3 separate regions of the Homo sapiens genome follow, and all the other regions are linked to region 1. Evidence: promoter capture Hi-C in human tissues and cell types (Jung and others, 2019). All regions are on one chromosome and are shown on one strand. The core of a region is centred on a gene start or on the middle of the fragment in contact, and the rest is flanking DNA. Distances in the headings are between cores, read along the strand shown. Region 1 holds the start of SDCBP2 (syndecan binding protein 2). Region 2 has its middle 71 kb from the start of SIRPA. Region 3 has its middle 91 kb from the start of SIRPA.

What was found. The method cuts DNA at HindIII sites, captures the fragments that hold promoters and counts their contacts. A contact is called where the count stands out against the background at its distance.
Region 2: a fragment that was not itself captured here is called in contact with the fragment with the promoter of SDCBP2 in region 1 in 2 of the 25 tissues and cell types used here (dorsolateral prefrontal cortex and hippocampus).
Region 3: a contact is called between a fragment that was not itself captured here and the fragment with the promoter of SDCBP2 in region 1, in 1 of the 25 tissues and cell types used here (lymphoblastoid cells).

What each region holds. Positions count from the first base shown.
Region 1 is chr20:1,327,323-1,330,695 of GRCh38, forward strand. SDCBP2 (syndecan binding protein 2) reads right to left here and starts at 1,817. Exons shown (of 9, transcript NM_080489.5): 1 at 1,763-1,817. The region is part of intron 2 of FKBP1A-SDCBP2 (FKBP1A-SDCBP2 readthrough (NMD candidate)); the gene reads right to left. The region is part of intron 1 of SDCBP2-AS1 (SDCBP2 antisense RNA 1); the gene reads left to right. The HindIII fragment of the contact is 26,056 bases long and covers 1-3,373 here.
Region 2 is chr20:1,822,543-1,825,915 of GRCh38, forward strand. No RefSeq gene overlaps it. Among named protein-coding and RNA genes, the nearest start is that of SIRPA, 71 kb to the right of the region's middle. The HindIII fragment of the contact is 6,431 bases long and covers 1-3,373 here.
Region 3 is chr20:1,803,165-1,806,537 of GRCh38, forward strand. No RefSeq gene overlaps it. Among named protein-coding and RNA genes, the nearest start is that of SIRPA, 91 kb to the right of the region's middle. RefSeq lists a silencer at 208-457. The HindIII fragment of the contact is 3,353 bases long and covers 1-3,303 here.

The sequences.
Region 1 (3,373 bases), core at 567-3,066:
ACACTTTGTTCCAAAGAGCTGAAGTGATGGAACTCCCACTCGTTCCTGTGGACAGCTCATCCGTCCTTTACAAGACAGTGCGCGGGAGGGAAGCGTGGGTTAGAGTGTCAGAGGAATAGCTCCTGGAAGGCCAAATTAGCCCAGGGATGTGGTGAGTCGGAATAGAAGAAGCTGTTGCTAGGCCACCAGCATGTACCCCCACTCCTCCTCTCAGTGCTGCACTGCCTGCTGGGGAAAAGCTGTGACTTCCTCAAGCAGACACGCCTGAACCCAGGCCCAGGCAGGGCAGGGTTCAGACTGACTGCTTCTGACTTGTGAGAGCACAGCATAGGCAAATCCCCTTTGAATGTCATTTCTTCCTTTGTAATCTGGATAACAATAGTTGCATCACAGTTGTCTGGAGACTGAAAGATTTTTAAAAAGAGTTAAGGTGTATATGGAAAGCATTTAGCACAGCACCTAGCACATAATAGGCATTCAGTAAAAGTTAGCTGTTTATTCATTGTTTCAGCGCTTACTTACTCAGCACCTGCTAAGTCTGAGTACTGTTCTAGGTATCAGCAGTGAAGGAAAGAAGACTTGGTCCCCAAATGTACTTTCTTTGGGGGAAGAGCTGGATAAATAGGCTTTGTGACTCTGTGTGCTGTGTTAGATGGTGGGAGGCACTGGAGAGAAAGAGCAGGACGGAGGGTCATGTCAGGAGGTTCAGAAGCCTTGCTGGCTGGGTGGGGTGACATTTGAGGAAAGGCCTAATGGGGTGGGCACGGCCATTGCAGAGCCTCTCAGGTGGGAGTTGGTGTTGTGTTTAGAGGACATCTGCCAGTGAGAAGCCAGTTGTGCAGAGAGGGAGTAAGGAGGAGTAGTGGGGAGGAAGCTGGAGAAGTGAGAGGGGCCAGATCCTGGAGGGCCTGGAGGTCATGGTGAGGACTTTGGCATTTACTGTAGTGAGATGGGAGCCACTGGGGGATTTGTAGCAGCAGAGTGCCAAGGTCCAAGGGTTATTTTGACAGGCCTCCTCTGGCTGATGTTTGGAGGATGGGCTACAGGGCAGGAGTGGGAGCAGGAGCCCAGGTGGGAAGTGATGGTGGTGGAATTGTCATGAGCTTGGGCCACTGTACGTGAAGCTGCCTGTCCAGTGCTCGCCCAGCCCATACCAGGCTCGTTTTCTGCCCCATTTTCTGAGACCCTGCTGAGGAGGGCATGCACTGGCTCCTGTGTCCAGTATGTCCTTCCATTCTCCTGACTTTGTGGGCTATTTTCAGTCTCCAGATGAAGAAACCAGTTCTTAGAAAGGTGAAGCCCCTGGCGCAGTTCCCCAGCAGGTGTTTCAGTGCTGTGGCAGGAAGGTTTTTTGATAGAAACAGCCTCAGGCCAGAGAAGTCGGCCTGAGCTGTGGATTCCTTGGGAGAAATGGGCTTTTTGCCTGCCTGCAGCCTCTGGTTTCGGCTGGAATTGGCCTTTCAAGGAGCAAAGTGTGGATCTCATCTCCTTGAGCACAGTCATGGGCAGTCAGAAGGCATCGGGGGCCCTCATGATGTCTGGGTGAAGAAAATCACTCAGCCCTTAATCAAACTTGGTCCAGGGCTGGGATCAGAAGAAGAAACCCCACTTCACACTTGACTGCTTGGAGTGAAGCACTTCGAAAGGAAGCTGCCTGGGAAGTCCCAGAAGGGAAGGGGCAGGGAGGGAAGGGGACAGGGTGAGAGCAGGTCTCACTCATCCCAATCCCAGCCAGGATTGGGTCAGGGCCCCCAGCGCTTACCTGCAGGCAAGGTGCTGCTCCACGACCTTCTCCAGCTGCTGCCGCTGCTGAATCTGTTTCCCTCCCTGAAACGTAGCCCTGTCTCTCAGCTGGCTTCCTGATCTGGGAAGGGTGGTGCCTGTCCCCTGTTCAGCTGACTCACCTTGGACTGGGATGGGCACAGGTGAGGGCTGTGGCTGGGTAAACAAGGCAGGTTGCCAGCCCAGAGGAGGCCTTTGGCCTTAGTCTGGATTTGGAGGTGGGATTAAGGCCCTCACAGCTGCTGTTCAGACGGTTATGAACCAAGACTTCTTGGCCTTTTCTTAAATAGCTCTAAATTTGGGTTGGACACCTAGTCCTGCTGATCGAGGCAGTTGGCTAGAGGGCGGTTTGTGATAGGTATCTAGGGGTCTAGGCCAGGATATTAAAAAGTGGTCATATCCTGTGACCCAGCATTTCTTCTAGGAATTTGTTACAGTGGAGTCACAGGGCCCATCCATCACTGCTGCTTCTAGTAAGGAAAATGTAGAAATCCCAAATGCCCATCTCTGTGGTCTGCTTGAATAAATCATTGTCTGTGGAAGATCACAGAGCTATTAAAGTCACTTAAGGAAGAAGGTATGAGGAAACATTTCTGAGATTCTAGTGAGATGTTGAAAAATCAATATTGTGAATCTCTTCTTGCATTTTGTTTTCATTTTTTGTAAAGTGGATGTGCGTTGAAAGCAGTCTAGGAGGACATACGCTAAAATGCTGAGTATCTCTGAATGGCAGCATTGAGGGTGAGGTTTTCAGTTTGTACTTTTGTGTGTTCCAAGGTGGTTTTTTTTTTTTTAAGTTAGCTTTTGCTCTGAATGCTCATGACTTTTGTAAGGGGGAAGCAATTAAGTTTGATTATTTTAATGGGAATTTAGAGTGGTTGTCTCTTGGGAGCAGACCTAAGGAGCTGTGTGCTGAGGTGGAGATTTTTTTTTTTATGGCACATTTTTGGTGTCTTAAATTTTGAAAAGTTTAAATGTACTACTTATTCCAAAAATAATTATATAAATTTGAACAGAAAAGGAGGAAGAATTTAGTTTAGATCCTGGTGGGTTTGGTTGGGTGAGGGTGCCTGTCGCACTGGGTGCCTGGGGAGGGACGAGGGACTCGTGTGCTGGGCAGTCCCATGAGGATTGACGCTGTACACACTCAGGGTGTGTCAGTATCTGGGCTGCTTCCTGGGCCAGGCAGGCCTACGTCACAGTTCCCATGACCCACCTGGCAGAGTTGCACTAGCCTTGGGTGTCAGATCTTGTGCCTGCCAATGAAGAGCTTACAGCCCAGAGTCCCACACAGGAAACACACAATAGGAATAATAACAAGAAAGACATTTGCCACTAATTCAGCACTTACTCCCAGAGAGCACAGAGATTCTACCCCTGGCACTTTAAAGGCATTATCTCAATGGCTTCTCATGCCATCCCTGCAGAGTAGGTGTGACTCACACCATTCCTCCAGGTGGGGACACTGAGGCACAGAGGCAAAGTTTCTCTCTCAAGTTAGCTGGAAAGTGGGCCAAGTTCATGTCTTCTCTTCTATGGGACATACTGTTTCAGAAAGCTGAGGTGTGGGGCAACCTCAGAGTAAGCTGTG
Region 2 (3,373 bases), core at 354-2,853, 500 kb after region 1:
CATTGGACTTACTAGATAAAGACTTTGAAACAACTGTCTTAAAAATGCTCAAAGAGCTAAAGAAAACCACAGAAAAATAACTAAAGGAAATCAGAAGAATGATATATGAACCAAATTATAATATCAACAAAGAGATAGAAATTATAAAAGGGAACCAAATATAAATTATGGAACTGAAAAATACAATAACTGAAATGAAAAATTCACTAGAAGAGTTCAACAGCACATTTGAGAGAAAACAAATAACAAAATTGCAAAAGTTCCTAATTACCAGTAATTAGTTTAAATGTAAATGGATTAAACTCACCAATCAAAAGGCATAAATTGACAGGATGAATTTTTTTAAATATCCAACTATATGCTGTCTACAAAAGACTCATTTTAGATACAAATAGATTGAATGTGAAAACATGAAAAAATATATTTCATACAAATAGTAACCAAACGAGATCTGAGATGGCTATACGAATGCTATACATAATAGTCAAATATGTTTACAAGAGACAAAAAACATTATATACTGATAAAAGTGTCAATTCATCAAGCAGATATAACAATTACATACATATATGCACCAAATAGCAGAGTTCTAATGTATTATTCACCCTGCTCCCCAGACGTTATTCCATGAGAGCAAGAACTGGATCTGGCTTGCTTACTGCTTTGTTCTCATACCAGGCATTTATGACTAACACACATTTGCTCAATTTCCACTATCCCCACTAGGTGACCACAGCAAAAGTGGACAGATAGCGTCTGGCAAGCTTCAGGCAGGAGCTTGAACCTGACCATCTTCAGCTGTCCCAGCTGTCACCTCCAGAAATCTGAGATCCTTTCCTTGCCATCCATGGTCCAACCATGAAAATAGGAGTGAAGGTGTTTAGGAATTGTGATCAACTCTAGTCTCCCCAGCCAAGCACTTCAGGGCTTACGGCTGCATATCAGGGAATCCAGGGGACCAAGGGAGGCGGGTGAGTTCACCATTGGAGTTGTCCAGTCTGAATGGCCAGTGTTACCCATGAGGACCCTGAGGCTCAGAGAGGGCAGGGAACCAGCTGGAAGTCACACAACAAGCTAGTGGCAGAGCTGCTGACTGCCTACCACCTGCTGTTTCTCTAAGTTGCCTTGGCGACTGCCTCAGGGACTGCCCATAGCATGCAATCTCTCTAAGTTATCCCTTCCCCTCCATTTCCCCTTTCATTTCTCCTTTTCTTCGTGTTATTTTTTGTTCTCCATCCCTATACCACACCAGGCCTCTCACGGCCTTTCCTAGATTTCTGAGTTAGACCATCTCATTTGACCCCCACAATGACCTGTGAAAGAAGTGCCTTTTAAAGCCCCATTTTCCAGATTAGATAACTGAAACCCTGAGATAGAAAGAGGTCAGCCAGTGACGCCATGTGGGCCTAGAACTCTGCCCAGCCTCTTTACTCCAGGTTCCAAGGCCTTGTCTGCCCTCAAAAGTATCAAGAGATTTATTTAAGCAAAAAACATCATGCTCACTACAAGCTTCTTAAGAAAGCCTTCTTCCAATCACCAAGACCCCTGGCTGTCTTTCTCCTGTGGATTTTCCCTTTCATCTCAGGATGACCGCGAGATATGAATGTTACCCTCCAAGCTGTAGCATGCAGGAAGGCTGGGGCCCAGACCTCAAGCTGAAGGCATTAGGGTGGGTGTAGGGTGTGCCCAGTTCTAGACAATTTCAACCTCAACAAGCTCAGTGCATTTGCCACTTGATAAGTGCTGAGCTGAATGGTTTGCAGGTGTTACCTCAAATTCATGCCCATCATGCTTAATAAGGTCAAAACCCTTACTTCATTTTGCAATGGAGGACACAGTTTCAGAAGGGGAAGTGGGTTGCACAAGAGCACTGATGGTCATTAGCTGGTCTGCTGGGCCTTGCTCTTAACCCCCTCCTTGTCTTGGATCAGGGACCACAGGGTCTGTGGGTGGTGGTGCATGCAAAACATGAAGATGTACAGAAGGATCAGAGCTTGTGTAAATGTGTGGATTTTTCCAGGTTGCCTTGCCATCACTTGTTTTTTCTTCTAGAGAGTGAGGGGCAGGGAGAGTTCAGGTGGGAAGGCCCGGGATATTTTTGCTGAAACCATCTGTTCTAGGCCTACTTCTGAAATGCCCTGATCCACATAGGGGAGGGGGAAAACAGAGATGGTCGAGAGTCCAGCCAACGTCTAGGGGCAAAGATGAGGGGCTCAGAACTCAGCAATTCGGCCCATCAGTCAGGGATAGCAGCCTAAAACTGTGGTCAGCCATGGGGTCTGGAGAAGACTGGGTGGGATGGATGGGGAAATGTTTCTAGAAGGAAGAAGGAGACTCTGGTTCACCCCCAGTTTGCAGGATGGAGTCATTGTGCCTTTAGGGAAGAGTGAGCAGCTGGCTGGAGGTCTATACTCCTGCCTGCTTGGTCTGGAGTTTCTCTCACCCTGGTCACTTGATCCTCTTACTTTTCCTGTCAGTGAGGAAGCTGTTTACTCCCAGAAAGTCATTCATTCCCTGATAAGATCAATCTCATTGTTAAGCAGAATTTTCACTTCCTGCCCGGGAGTTGGCGTAGCGCGAATGTCCAGCATTCAGAGCCCCATAAACAGTCAGCATGAGAGAGGCCCTAGAGGCCAACACTGCCCAACAGCTCCTGATGTAAAAATGGGGAAACTGAGGTCCAGAGAGAGGAAGAGCAGGGAAAGGAGTCAGTGTCAGAGCTGAGCCCAAATCCAGGCCCTGCCACCGCTACTCCACCATTCCTAGGTCAGGTGGTGTTTTGCATGCCATCAAAGAACCCCACAATTTCATGCGCTCCCTTTTGATTTTAAGATTCAACATGCCATTCTAAGAAAACTTGCTAAGAAAACATTTCAACACAATATAATATTTTAATGTAACACTAATATACTATTATAACATTGCATTCAAATATAATGTTCTAACACAGATTAATATTCTAATTCAACATTTCAGCACAATTCTAACCAATATTCTAATCCTACACTCTGGAGCAACATACCATTCTAACACATAACATTACATCATGTCCTAATGCAATATTATAAGACATTGTACCACAACATTCCAATCTAGGCTGCTAACGCAATATGACATTTCTGTATTATTTGAATGCAATTCTAATACGACACTCTAAAATAACTAAGTTATTACTCTAATATTAAGAATTCTGAGATTTTAAGCCTCTGGAATGTCCACTGGACAAGGTGATGTCATGCCAGTTTGTGATTCATGACGCCAGAGCCCTTCCTAGTTCCAGCGGCCCCCAGGACCCAGGTCAGGTAGGTCCAGCTGTCTAGCTTTGTAGAGGGAGGGCAGGTCCTTCCCAAGGCACAGGGCAGGGACTCCTTGA
Region 3 (3,373 bases), core at 377-2,876, 480 kb after region 1:
CTGGAAAGGGCCAACGGAGCGGATATTCCCGGAGCCCCTCTGCGAGCCACGCGCCCCTCTGGGAAGCCCGCTTCCCCCTGCAGACAGGCGCTGTGACACGCTTGCGCCCCGGTCGAACAGGCGAAGAGGCCGAGGCCCAGAGCGGCGCAGGGCGAGCCTGGAGGCTGCGCCCCAGACCTGGACCAGCCACGGACGCCGCTCCCGCCGCTCCCTCCGCTCCGCTGCGCTCCGCACGCTGGCGCCGGCTCCCCGAGGCCCCGGGCGCCCCGGCCGCACGCCTGGGTAAAAGGTCCCGAGGAGTCCGCAGAAGCGCGCCCACGCCCGAGACGGCCGTTTCCGCCGGCCTGGGAAAGGGGCGGAGAAGGGGGTCGCCCGGGCCGCAGCGTGCCGGTCCCCGCCGGCCGAGCCGTGTTTGGGGCCAGTCCCCGCACCCCGCTTCTTCCCCACCTGGGGAGCGGGGCGCCGCGGTAGGGGCACTGGAGCGCACGATGCACCCCGCCAACGAGTCCTTTCTGCAGACGGGGTTCCTGTTTTCATGCAAATGCCTTTGTTAGCGCACCGGGAACCAGGGGGACGGAACTGCAGCTGACGCGGGCTGCGCGCCGCTTTTCCGCCTTCGCTTGATTCGGCCTCAACGACTTAAACGCGCCGGGAACAAAAACGCCGGCGCCGCGGAAACCCTCAGGAGCGGCACGAGAAGCGCGGCTCCGCTGGGGTCCGCGAGAAGCGGTGCGGGCGGCCGGGCTGGTGCCTGCAGGCCCTCTCACCGCATCACCAAGGGCAAGGAACCTCCAACTGTCCCTCAGTTTCTCTACCTGCACTGGGATGTCCTACATAAGGAGTCAGCTCAGTGCCCGCATCTTGCTGTAATTATTTTGTCCAAGCACTGTGGGAGGCAGCGTTGAGGAGGCTGTTGTGGGGAGTTTGCCTGTCAGAGAGAAGAGGGAAATAAACAAGAAACATACAGACAAAATAATTTCAAATAGCAACAAGTGTTAATATCGTAGCAAACACCAATGCAGCGCTTATGCCAGGCTCTGCTCTATGCTATATGCACATTAGGTCATGTAATCCTCACTCCCTTGTACAGATAGGAAAATGCTGGTTGAATAATCTATTGAAGGGAAATAGGAAGTTGAACAATATGTGGAGAAACAGGTTGCACGATAGGTGGAGAAACAACAGGTTGCACGATATGTGGGGAACCAGGTTGAACAATAGCCTCAAGTGCGCAGTAGGTAGGCTCGGCACTTGAGAATATTGGGCCCAGCCTGGGTTTCGACCCAGCCAGTCCAGCCCCAAGTGGAAGCTTTTGCACACTCCATTACACCAGTTTTGGCTGTACTAGGAAGGATGTAAAGTGGTGACACGCCCAAGAGAGAGCTGGGGCTAGACAGGAGCTGCTCCTAAAAGGATGTCAATGGACGTCTCTGTGCAAGAGAGTAAGCTGAGGCCTGCACAGTGAGAGGAACTAGCCATGCAAAGAGCTGGGCGTGTCCAGCAGAGAAAACAGCAAGGGCAAAGGCCTTGAGGTGGGAGAGTAGATGTGGGGTTTCATGAACATAAGGATGGAACTCAGTGAGCAGTAGTAAGGAGACTGGAGATGGTCAGCAGCTGGGGGTAGCAGGCTTTGCAGGTCTCGGCAAGGAGCTGGACTTTTATTCTAGGTGTGATGGGAAGTTGTGTTGTTATGGCCACTGAAGGAGTTGCGTGGATGGAGTTGGACCAGAGGGTGGGTGCCCTTCCTGCCTTGCCAGCCTTAGGTTCAAGGAGGAAGTTGATTGCTTAGGCCTTAAGCTTGCCCCTCCTCATCTGACCTCCTGGCTTCTAGGACATTCCTGAGGACGTACACCAAGTCTCCAACATTACCTGATGTCAGATCAGGTAAGCCCTCATCTTATAGATAGGGCTAAGACTGAGGCCCTGACTTCAGGGATGTGTCTTCACCTTTGAGTAGGAGAAGCAGGGGTGGTATCTGCTTCATCTACTCATGTACCTGCAGCACCTAGCACAGGCTGACCAGCCCATCCTTGGACCCAGGCAAGCGGGGCTCTGCCCTGGCCAGCCTCCAGCTGCGTACATCCCCACAGGCTAGAGAGTCTGCAGTGCCAAGGGGATATACCCATCCAAGTCTTTGCTCCTTGTCTAGAATACTACAGATTCCTAGGATTCCTGAGCTCCCTACCTAAAAGTCCCAAGCCTGCTGCCAGGCCTCTTCCTGGTCTATTGTCTGGAGGCAGAACACTAAGCCCAGGGTGTAGCCAAGGGGCACTGCAGAGGATAGGGTGTGGATGGAGATTGGACCTGCAGCCTGGGATGTCTACACACATGCAGGTGAGGTGTGCACGGTACAGGATGGAGCTGGGGATGAGAAGGGAAGGTGGCAGTTTATAGGCTGGGAAATGAGCGACCAGGGAATGGGGCTGGCTCTCCCCAGCACCGCCACATTTCAGTGCGAGTATCTAAGAAATCCAAATCAATCCTGGCCTTTCAGGCTGCTGAGAAGTTATACTTACTGAGGAGAAGGATAGAACATTTAAGAGAAGGTATTGGTCTGATTTATAATTTTTAAATATTTAGATTTAAGGGTGAGTGGACACCAGCCTCCACCAATATCAAGAGTGTGTTTGGCCTAGACCCTAGGAGATATTCAATATTTATCAAATAGATGGATGAATCTCATTTAATTTAATCCTCACACAGACTCAACGGAGGGAAATCACATCGTCTGTGCTTTATTGATGAGGGAACTAAGGCTTGGAGAGATTTAATGACTGGCCTATTTGTCAAGTTAGAAGTTTGTCTAGCAGAGCTGAGAGCCTCAAGCCCTAACGTGTCTGATTCCAAAATCCATTGCAATTGGTTCATGACAAGTTCACTCCCATTATGACCACATTAAATATATTATAACTGTTTGAGCATGTCACTCGCTGATCTTTGGGAACATAAGCACTGTTTATATTACATGAAAAAGGCCTTCTCTTCTTCATTCTTACTCTACCCTCTCAGGCACCTTTGGGAAGTAGTAAGACAGGAGCTAATGCTCCATTTAACAAATGGAAAACTGAGGACTGAGCAATAGCCCAAGGTGTCAACGAGGCTTAAACAAATAGGGATTTTTTTTTTTTTTTTCATGTAGCAAGAAATCCGGAGGTAGCTGGGCAAGGGCTGGTATAATTTTTGCATTATTTTCAGCAAACAACTTCTGCCTCTTGGTCTCTTCTGGCTATTTATTGCTACAGCATAACAAACTGCCCCCAAACAACAACCATTGTATCGTCTACAGTTTTGTGAGTCAGAAATTTGCGCAGGGCTCAGCTGGGTGATCCTTCAGTGATCCATGGAGCGCCGACTAGAGTCACTCAGTGATCTT